Linked DNA regions of Homo sapiens: region 2 is linked to region 1. Evidence: promoter capture Hi-C in human tissues and cell types (Jung and others, 2019). All regions are on one chromosome and are shown on one strand. The core of a region is centred on a gene start or on the middle of the fragment in contact, and the rest is flanking DNA. Distances in the headings are between cores, read along the strand shown.

Region 1 (3,698 bases), core at 1,139-3,638:
GGGGTGCAGTGGCATGATCATGGCTCACTGCAGCCTTGAACTCTTAGGCTCAAAGGATCCTCCCACCTCAGCCTCCCAAGTAGGTGGGACAACAGATGCCAGCCACCGGTGCCAGCTAAGGTTGTTTGTTTGTTTGTTTTCAGGGCTGGGGTCTCACTATGTCACCCAGACCAGTCTTGAACTCCTGATCTCAAATGATCCTCCTGCCTTGGCCTCCTGAAGTCCTGGGATTACAGGCATGAACCACCAAGCCTAGCGACCCCTCTCCTTATCAGCTTCCTTCTAAGCATTAGCAAATTTCAGTAGACCAACTTCCACATTCTTGGCTTCAGAAAGATCAATAATGGGCTCTTGATCAAGCAGCCATGGCAAATATTATAATTAATGGAGAAATTTAGACATTTTATTTATGACTAAGAATAAAACAAAGTGCAGGGCACAGTGACTCACTCCTGTAATCCCAAAGCTTTGGGAGGCCAAAGAGGGAAGATCACTTGAGCCCAGGAGTTAAAGACCAGTCTGGGCAACATAGGGAGACCTTGTGTCTGCAAAAAAAATAAAAATAAAAAAATAGGGCCGGGTGCGGTGGCTCATGCCTGTAATCCCAACACTTTGGGAGGCCGAGGCGGGTGGATCACCTGAGGTCAGGAGTTCGAGACCAGCCTGACCAACATGGTGATACCCTGTCTCTACTAAAAATACAAAACTTAGCCAGGCGTAGTGACGGGCGCCTGTAATCCCAGCTACTTGGGAGGCTGAGGAAGAAGAATCACTTGAACCCGGGAGGCAGAGGTTGCAGCGAGCCGAGATCGTGCCATTGCACTCCAGCCCGGGTGACAGAGTGAGATTTCGTCTCAAATAAATAAATAAATAAATAAATAAATAAATAAAATAAGCTGAGCATGGTGGTACATGCCTGTAGTCTCAGCTACTAGGGAGGCTGAGGTGGGAGTATCGCTTGGGCCCAGGAGACTGAGGCTGCAGTGAGCCATGATTGCACCACTGCACTCCAGCCTGGGTGACAGAGTGAGACTCTGTCTCAAGAAAATAAATAATTTTTTTTAATTTAAAAAAAAACAAAAAACAGCCTGGGTAACATGGCAAAACCCTGTCTCTACAAAAAGTAGAAAAAGTTAGCTAGGTGGCCAGGCGCAGTGGCTCATGCCTGTAATCCCAGCATTTTGGGAGGCCGAGGCAGGCAGATCACCTGAGGTCGGGAGTTCAAGACCAGCCTGACCAACATGGAGAAACCCTGTCTTTACTAAAAATACAAAATTAGCAGGGCGTGGTGGTGGGTGCCTGTAATCCCAGCTACTCGGGCAGCTGAGGCAGGAGAATCGCTTGAACCCAGGAGGGGAGGTTGCGGTGAGCCGAGATCACGCCATTGCACTCCAGCCTGGGCAACAAGAGTGAAACTCCTTCTCAAAAAAAAAAAAGAAAAAGGAAGGAAAGAAGGAAAGAAAGAAAGAGAGAGAAAAAGGAAAGGAAAGGAAAGAACGAGGAGGGGAGGGGAAGGGGAAGGGGAAGGGGGAAAGAAAGAAAGAAAGGAAGGAAGGCCAGTCGCGGTGGCTCACGCCTGTAATCCCAGCACTTTGGGAGGCCGAGGCGGGCAGATCACAAGGTCAGGAGATCGAGACCATCCTGGCTAACACAGTGAAACCCCATCTCTACTAAAAATACAAAAAAGTTGGGCCAGGCGCAGTGGCTTACGCCTGTAATCCCAGCACTTTGGGAGGCCGAGGCGGGAGGATCACGAGGTTAGGAGTTCGAGACCAGCCTGACCAACATGGTGAAACCCCGTCTCTACTAAAAATACAAAAATTATCCAGGCATGGTGGCACGTGCCTGTAATCCCAGCTATTCAGGAGGTTGAGGCAGGAGAATTGCTTGAACCAGGGAGGCGAAGGTTGCAGTGAACCGAGATCGCGCCACTGCAATCCAGCCTGGGCGACAGAGCGAGACTCTGTCTCAAGAAAAAAACAAAGAAAAAAATACAAAAAAATTAGCCGGGCGTGGTGGCGGGCGCCTGTAGTCCCAGCTATTCAGGAGGCTGAGGCAGGAGAATGGCATGAACCCGGGAGGCAGAGCTTGCAGTGAGCCGAGATCGCACCACTGCACTCCAGCCTGGGCGACAGAGAGAGACCCCGTCTCAAAAAAAAAAAAAAAAAAGAAAGAAAGAAAGAAAAGAAAAGAAAAAGAAAGAGAAAGAAAGAAAGAAAGAGGTTTTTGCGGATTTAAGTTAAGTTACGACGATGTCATGGGGTGTCCTAATAGGAGGAGATGGACAGCAACAAAAACACAAAGGAAGATCATCATGGGATGATGGAGGCAAAGATGTGGCCATAAAAAAAACCACAGAACCTCAGGAATTGCTGGCAACCACCAGAAGCTAAGAGAGAGTCAATAAAAGCTCCTCCTTAGAACCTTCAGTGGAAGTATAGCCCTGCCAATCCCTTGACTCCAGGCCTCTGGCCTCCAGAACCGCAAGATAATCCATTTCTGTTGTTTTCGGCCATGCGCTTTGTTACAGCCACCACATGAATCTAATACCTACCCAGGGTCTTTGAAATATCTACAGTTCTCTAGGCACCCTAGGCCAAGAGATGACATTCCTCATAGAGAAGAAAGGAAGGGAGGGGGCTCCGGTAGATTTAGGGTACTCCAGGATACCTACCAATAAAACCATGGAGGCCCGGGTCCCAGGGGGCCGCGGGGGGAGCTGGAGATAAGTGGGGGAGCCAGAGTGTGCCTGGGAGGAACGTTGAAATGGAGATGTTTAGAAACTGGCATGTCTGGGAGACTTTTCATTTTGTTCTGTACTAAGAAAAATTCTTCTGCCTTGGGATCCTGTTGATCTATGACCTTACCCCCAACCCTGTGCTCTCTGAAACATGTGCTGTGTCCACTCAGGGTTAAATGGATTAAGGGCAGTGCAAGATGTGCTTTGTTAAACAGATGCTTGAAGGCAGCATGCTCGTTAAGAGTCATCACCACTCCCTAATCTCAAGTACCCAGGGACACAAACACTGCGGAAGGCCGCAGGGTCCTCTGCCTAGGAAAACCAGAGACCTTTGTTCACTTGTTTATCTGCTGACCTTCCCTCCACTATTGTCCTATGACCCTGCCAAATCCCCCTCTGCGAGAAACACCCAAGAATGATCAATAAAAAAATAATAATAATAATTAAAAAAAAAAAGAAACTGGCATGTCTTAGTGACAAATAGTAGAGTGGGCATGTCCATAATTGAAGTGCTTTAGGAGATATTTTGAGGTTCAGAACTGGGCCCTCTCAACTTCCTCAACTACCTGCTCTCCAGCTGTGTGCCACTGTGGGGACACAGAGGGTGATAATAAATGCACCAGCCTGGCAAAACAGCCCCACAAGATGATGGAATTTGCTACTCTCATTCTCAGACTTGCAGTCAGCTGTGGATATTCTGAGCTACCGTCCCATGATGCTCAGACAAAACAGCAGGCAACCAACTTGCAAGGTGAACTGGGGACACAAGGGAGATGCAAACCTCTCACCGCACTGTCTTGGCACAGAGTATCCAGGACTACAATCCCCATGATGCTTAAAGAGCAATGGCTGGGCCAGGCGCGGTGGCTCACGCCTGTAATCCCAGCACTTTGGGAGGCTGAGATGGGCAGATCACCTGTCAGCTGGTCAGGAGTTCGAGACCAGCTTGGTCAACATG
Region 2 (3,808 bases), core at 794-3,293, 110 kb before region 1:
TGTCTATTTTTTGTAGAGACAAGGTTTCACCATGTTGGCCAGGCTGGTCTTGAACTACTGAGCTCAAGTAATCTGCCTGCCTCAGCCTTCCAAAGTGCCAGGATTACAGGCCTGAGCTACCGTGCCCGGCCAGCAATACACATTTAAACTGAACAACTGAGGAAGCATTTTAGAGCCAAGGGAGCTTCAAAGTCCTTTGCTCAAGGCCGTACAGCTAGGAAGTGGCAGAGCAGGCATTGGAATCTAGGCGGTCTGGGTCCACAGCCTAGTATCTGACCAAGAGACCAGGCATCACTAACGCTGGCTTCTCTGAGAGATTCGGGACTCCCACCCCCTTGATGCATTTACCTTTTACATCACTGTCTGTGATGCGTTTCAGATCCTTCAGCAAACTCCAGGACCCCTTTTGCAGTGTGGCCTCATCTGTCAGAGGAGATATAACCCCAGATTCCAGCCTTACTGTCTCATTGGCGCGCCTAATCTTAGAAACTACAATACCCATGAGGCCACTGGGCAAAGATAGGCCTGGTTAAGGACTCAGCCGCCCGTTGCCTTCTGGGAGTTGTAGTTTTATTACATAAAATTGCCAGCCGAGGATAGGGAAAACGGTATTTACTAGCCTCGGGGAACCTCGGAATCTGCATCTCAGCCTTCTCCATTCCCGAATCCCGGAGACCCTGCTGTCAGCCTCTTCCTTCCCCTGGTCTTATCTCCCTCCTTTCCCAGGACCCAGGGGTCCGTGGTCCCCCCTGCCCTCACCAACGACCCCCATATAGGCATCCTCATTAAGCGACAGTTCCTGGAAATCCTTCACGGCATTCTCTACCCTTTCCATCATGGCTTTGTGATGCTTCGCATCCAGGTGGCCAGGCAGGTAATCTTTCTCCAGGGACTTTAGCGCCAGCACGACAGACGGGTCACATATAACACACCCCTCGGCAGGAAGCAAGCAACCGGCCAGCGCCGCACACAGGAGGGTAAAATGCGGCCCCATTGCAGCCGGCGCGCACAGTTCCCGAAGACCGTTAGGAAGGGTGCTCTCACCCCAAACCGAGAGCAGGAGAACGCTAAACGGAGAAAAGCCAAAATCCATCTTAAGAAATCCCACTGGGCCGCCTATCCATGGGGTCCGCAAACCTCGAAAAGAGGATCTTCAGGAAATCTCCAAATAAAGAGGACCTATGTCCTTCATCAAATGCCTCCGAAGTGTGAAACTGAGCCCCAATCCAGGGGACCCAAAATTTAGGGTTCTCACTGAATCCCCCAACTGAGAGATCAGAAAAACTATTAAACAGGAATCACTCATAAGTCCCCAAACTCAGAACCTGGAATCTCCCAACCCCATGCGCCCCTTCCCAAAATCCCAAACTGTGGAATTTTCCAAGTCCCCAGATTGACGTGAGCCTGAACTCCAACCCTTAAGAGCAACACCGAGGCACTCCCCCGCCAGCCCCCCAAAACCTGTTGAACCTCAAGCTGAAGATTCAATGCCCAAACCAATAAACATCTAACACAGACCCAACCACGATATTATCAAACTCGGAACTCCTTCAAAACCAAAACACATACCAGATTCCTAGAACTGAGGACCCCACTAACACTTAAGCGAGACTCCATGCGGTCCTCTAGACCTAGGGGGCCCTTGTTCACCCTTCCCCAAAACTAACGGGCTCCCAATTTGCAGGGCGCACCCTTCCGCTTAGAAAAAGGAGCCCCGATGCATCCTGAACAGTGATGCACCCTAAACAGCCGCTCCCCGACCTTGGTTCCCGATTTGTGGCCTCTAACACTAGGGTTCATTGAGGAGCCCGGTCCAGGTTCTGAGGGCTTTTAAAGAGGAAGCCGGGGTCATGACCACCTACGCTAATTTTCCCAGGGGTAAAATCAAGGATTGTGTTGGGGACGAGGGTAAGGTTGGTTGCGTGAAATCGAGAGCTTTTCGACGGGGTCTGAGTCACGGACGATCCCCTCTCCACAAGGAACTCCTGAAACCACCCCCTCCGAGCTTCTCACGTAGGGGCCCGAATTCCTTTATAGATATTCCTTGGGGTTTTCCTCGGCCCCACCCAGAAACTCAACTCTGTCTGATTGGACTGCAACAAAGGGAGGTCCCGCCCATCGCTCCATGACGTCACAGAGGCTGCAGCCTTTTTGGACTAGAATTTTCCCAGCATCTAGGGAAGAGGAAGCCTCCTGACTACTCTGGCTTCCAGAGTCAAGGACCGGACTCAGGCCTTCAGTTTCCTCCCCTCCCCTTGCCCCAGGACCCAGGCTTTGGGCTAGATCCGGCCCCCCAGGCCGCTGCCGCCCCCACCGCGGTCCTTGGAAACGGCTGTCGAGCCACGAAGTGGACATTTTAGCCCTAAGACTACAACTCCCAAAATGCCCTGGGGCCTCTTTCTCTGTAGCTGACTGACGCTGCCAACCTCATAGCTTTCCGGGAAATGTAGTTCAGTGATAATCCGCTCCCTCCTCCGCCTCTTCTGCCCACGCGGAGGTCCCAGTGGGAGGAGAGGACTGGGGGCCAATACTGACAGTCCAGGAGTGAGCAACTGGGGGCTCAGACGTTAGGGTCCTGGAAGGTCTCTCTCTCCTGTGTGATAGAAACAGGGAACCAGAAAAACAGGGACCACAACTCACACAAGTCCAGCAACAAGGGGCTGTCAGATCTAAGTAGGGACAGTACTCCCAATCACGAGTAATAAAAATCCTCAGGGCCCGGCGCGGTGGCTCACGCTTGTAATTCCAGCGCTTTGGGAGGCCGAGGCGGGCAGATTGTCTGAGGTCAGGAGTTCGAGGCCAGCCTGGCTAACATGGTGAAACCCCGTCTCTACTAAAAATACAAAAATTAGCTGGGCATGGTGGCGAACGTCTGTAGTCCCAGCTACTTGGGAGGCTGAGGCACCAGAATCCGAGAGGTGGGAGTTTGCAGTGGGCCGAGATCACACTACTGCACTCCAGCCTGGGCCACAGAGCAAGACTCGATCTCTGAAAAAAAATAAATTAATTAAAAAAAAATAAAAGTCTTCAGAAGTACCCCACCTTTTCCTCCACTCTCTTACACACACACACACACACACACACACACAAACCCACACACACATACACAGTGGCTCTGGCTCCAAAAAAGCTACAGAGACACGGGTTAGTGCTGTAGACTTTTAATTCATACCTCCTGCTCTCTCACCCGTGGCAGCTGAGTTGGGAACAGTACTGTAACAATTGTAACTGTAACTCCCTGATAAGCCTACAGGCATGGGGTCTGGATGAGTAGACAGGGGATGTGATCAGAGCTGACTATGTTTAAGGTTTCTTCTTTCACCCTCCAAAAAACAGCAAGGGGCTCCTGAGATCTCGACAACCCCGTCCACCTTGGCCAGACCTCGTGCTCCTGCCTGGATCTGAGGCTGGGTCCAGGGTCTGCCTACCTTTAGATCGTTTTATCTCAGACCTGCCCAAAGCCAGATGTAGTGGTTCTGGGAGTTCAGGGACAGACAGTGGTTAGCAATGAGCACGGTACCTGCCAGTTTGTCACAAGCACAGAGGGTGTGTTTATACCTGCACACTTCCAGAAAACAGATCCCAGACCCTCAGCAGCCCACCTGCAGACAAAGACCAACTTCCTTCATTGTGAGAGGCAACCTGAACTCACACCCAATATATGGAGCTCTTGGCAGTTTATGAGCTTTAAAAAAAAGTGTCCCTGGATCCCTGGAAAGTTCTGCTCCAGAAGCTGTACCATTTTGGCAGTGATCCCTCACCCCACGTTCACATTTTAGCCTGTCTGCTCAAAACAAACAAAAAAAAG

The links. Contacts are between HindIII fragments. The study calls those that stand out against the background at their distance.
Region 2: the fragment with the promoter of IZUMO1 here is called in contact with a fragment that was not itself captured in region 1 in 3 of the 25 tissues and cell types used here (dorsolateral prefrontal cortex, heart left ventricle and lymphoblastoid cells).

Annotation. Positions count from the first base shown.
Region 1 is chr19:48,854,748-48,858,445 of GRCh38, forward strand. It overlaps PLEKHA4 (pleckstrin homology domain containing A4), which reads right to left. Exons shown (of 20, transcript NM_020904.3): 9 at 2,675-2,749. Among named protein-coding and RNA genes, the nearest start is that of PLEKHA4, 12 kb to the right of the region's middle. The HindIII fragment of the contact is 8,029 bases long and covers 1-3,698 here.
Region 2 is chr19:48,744,866-48,748,673 of GRCh38, forward strand. It overlaps IZUMO1 (izumo sperm-oocyte fusion 1), which reads right to left and starts at 2,044. Exons shown (of 10, transcript NM_182575.3): 1 at 1,570-2,044; 2 at 760-1,067; 3 at 349-423. The coding sequence starts at 994. FUT1 (fucosyltransferase 1 (H blood group)) reads right to left here. Exons shown (of 2, transcript NM_001384359.1): 2 at 3,146-3,808. RefSeq lists a cis regulatory region at 243-763 and enhancers at 1,539-2,324, 2,325-3,110. The HindIII fragment of the contact is 12,211 bases long and covers 302-3,808 here.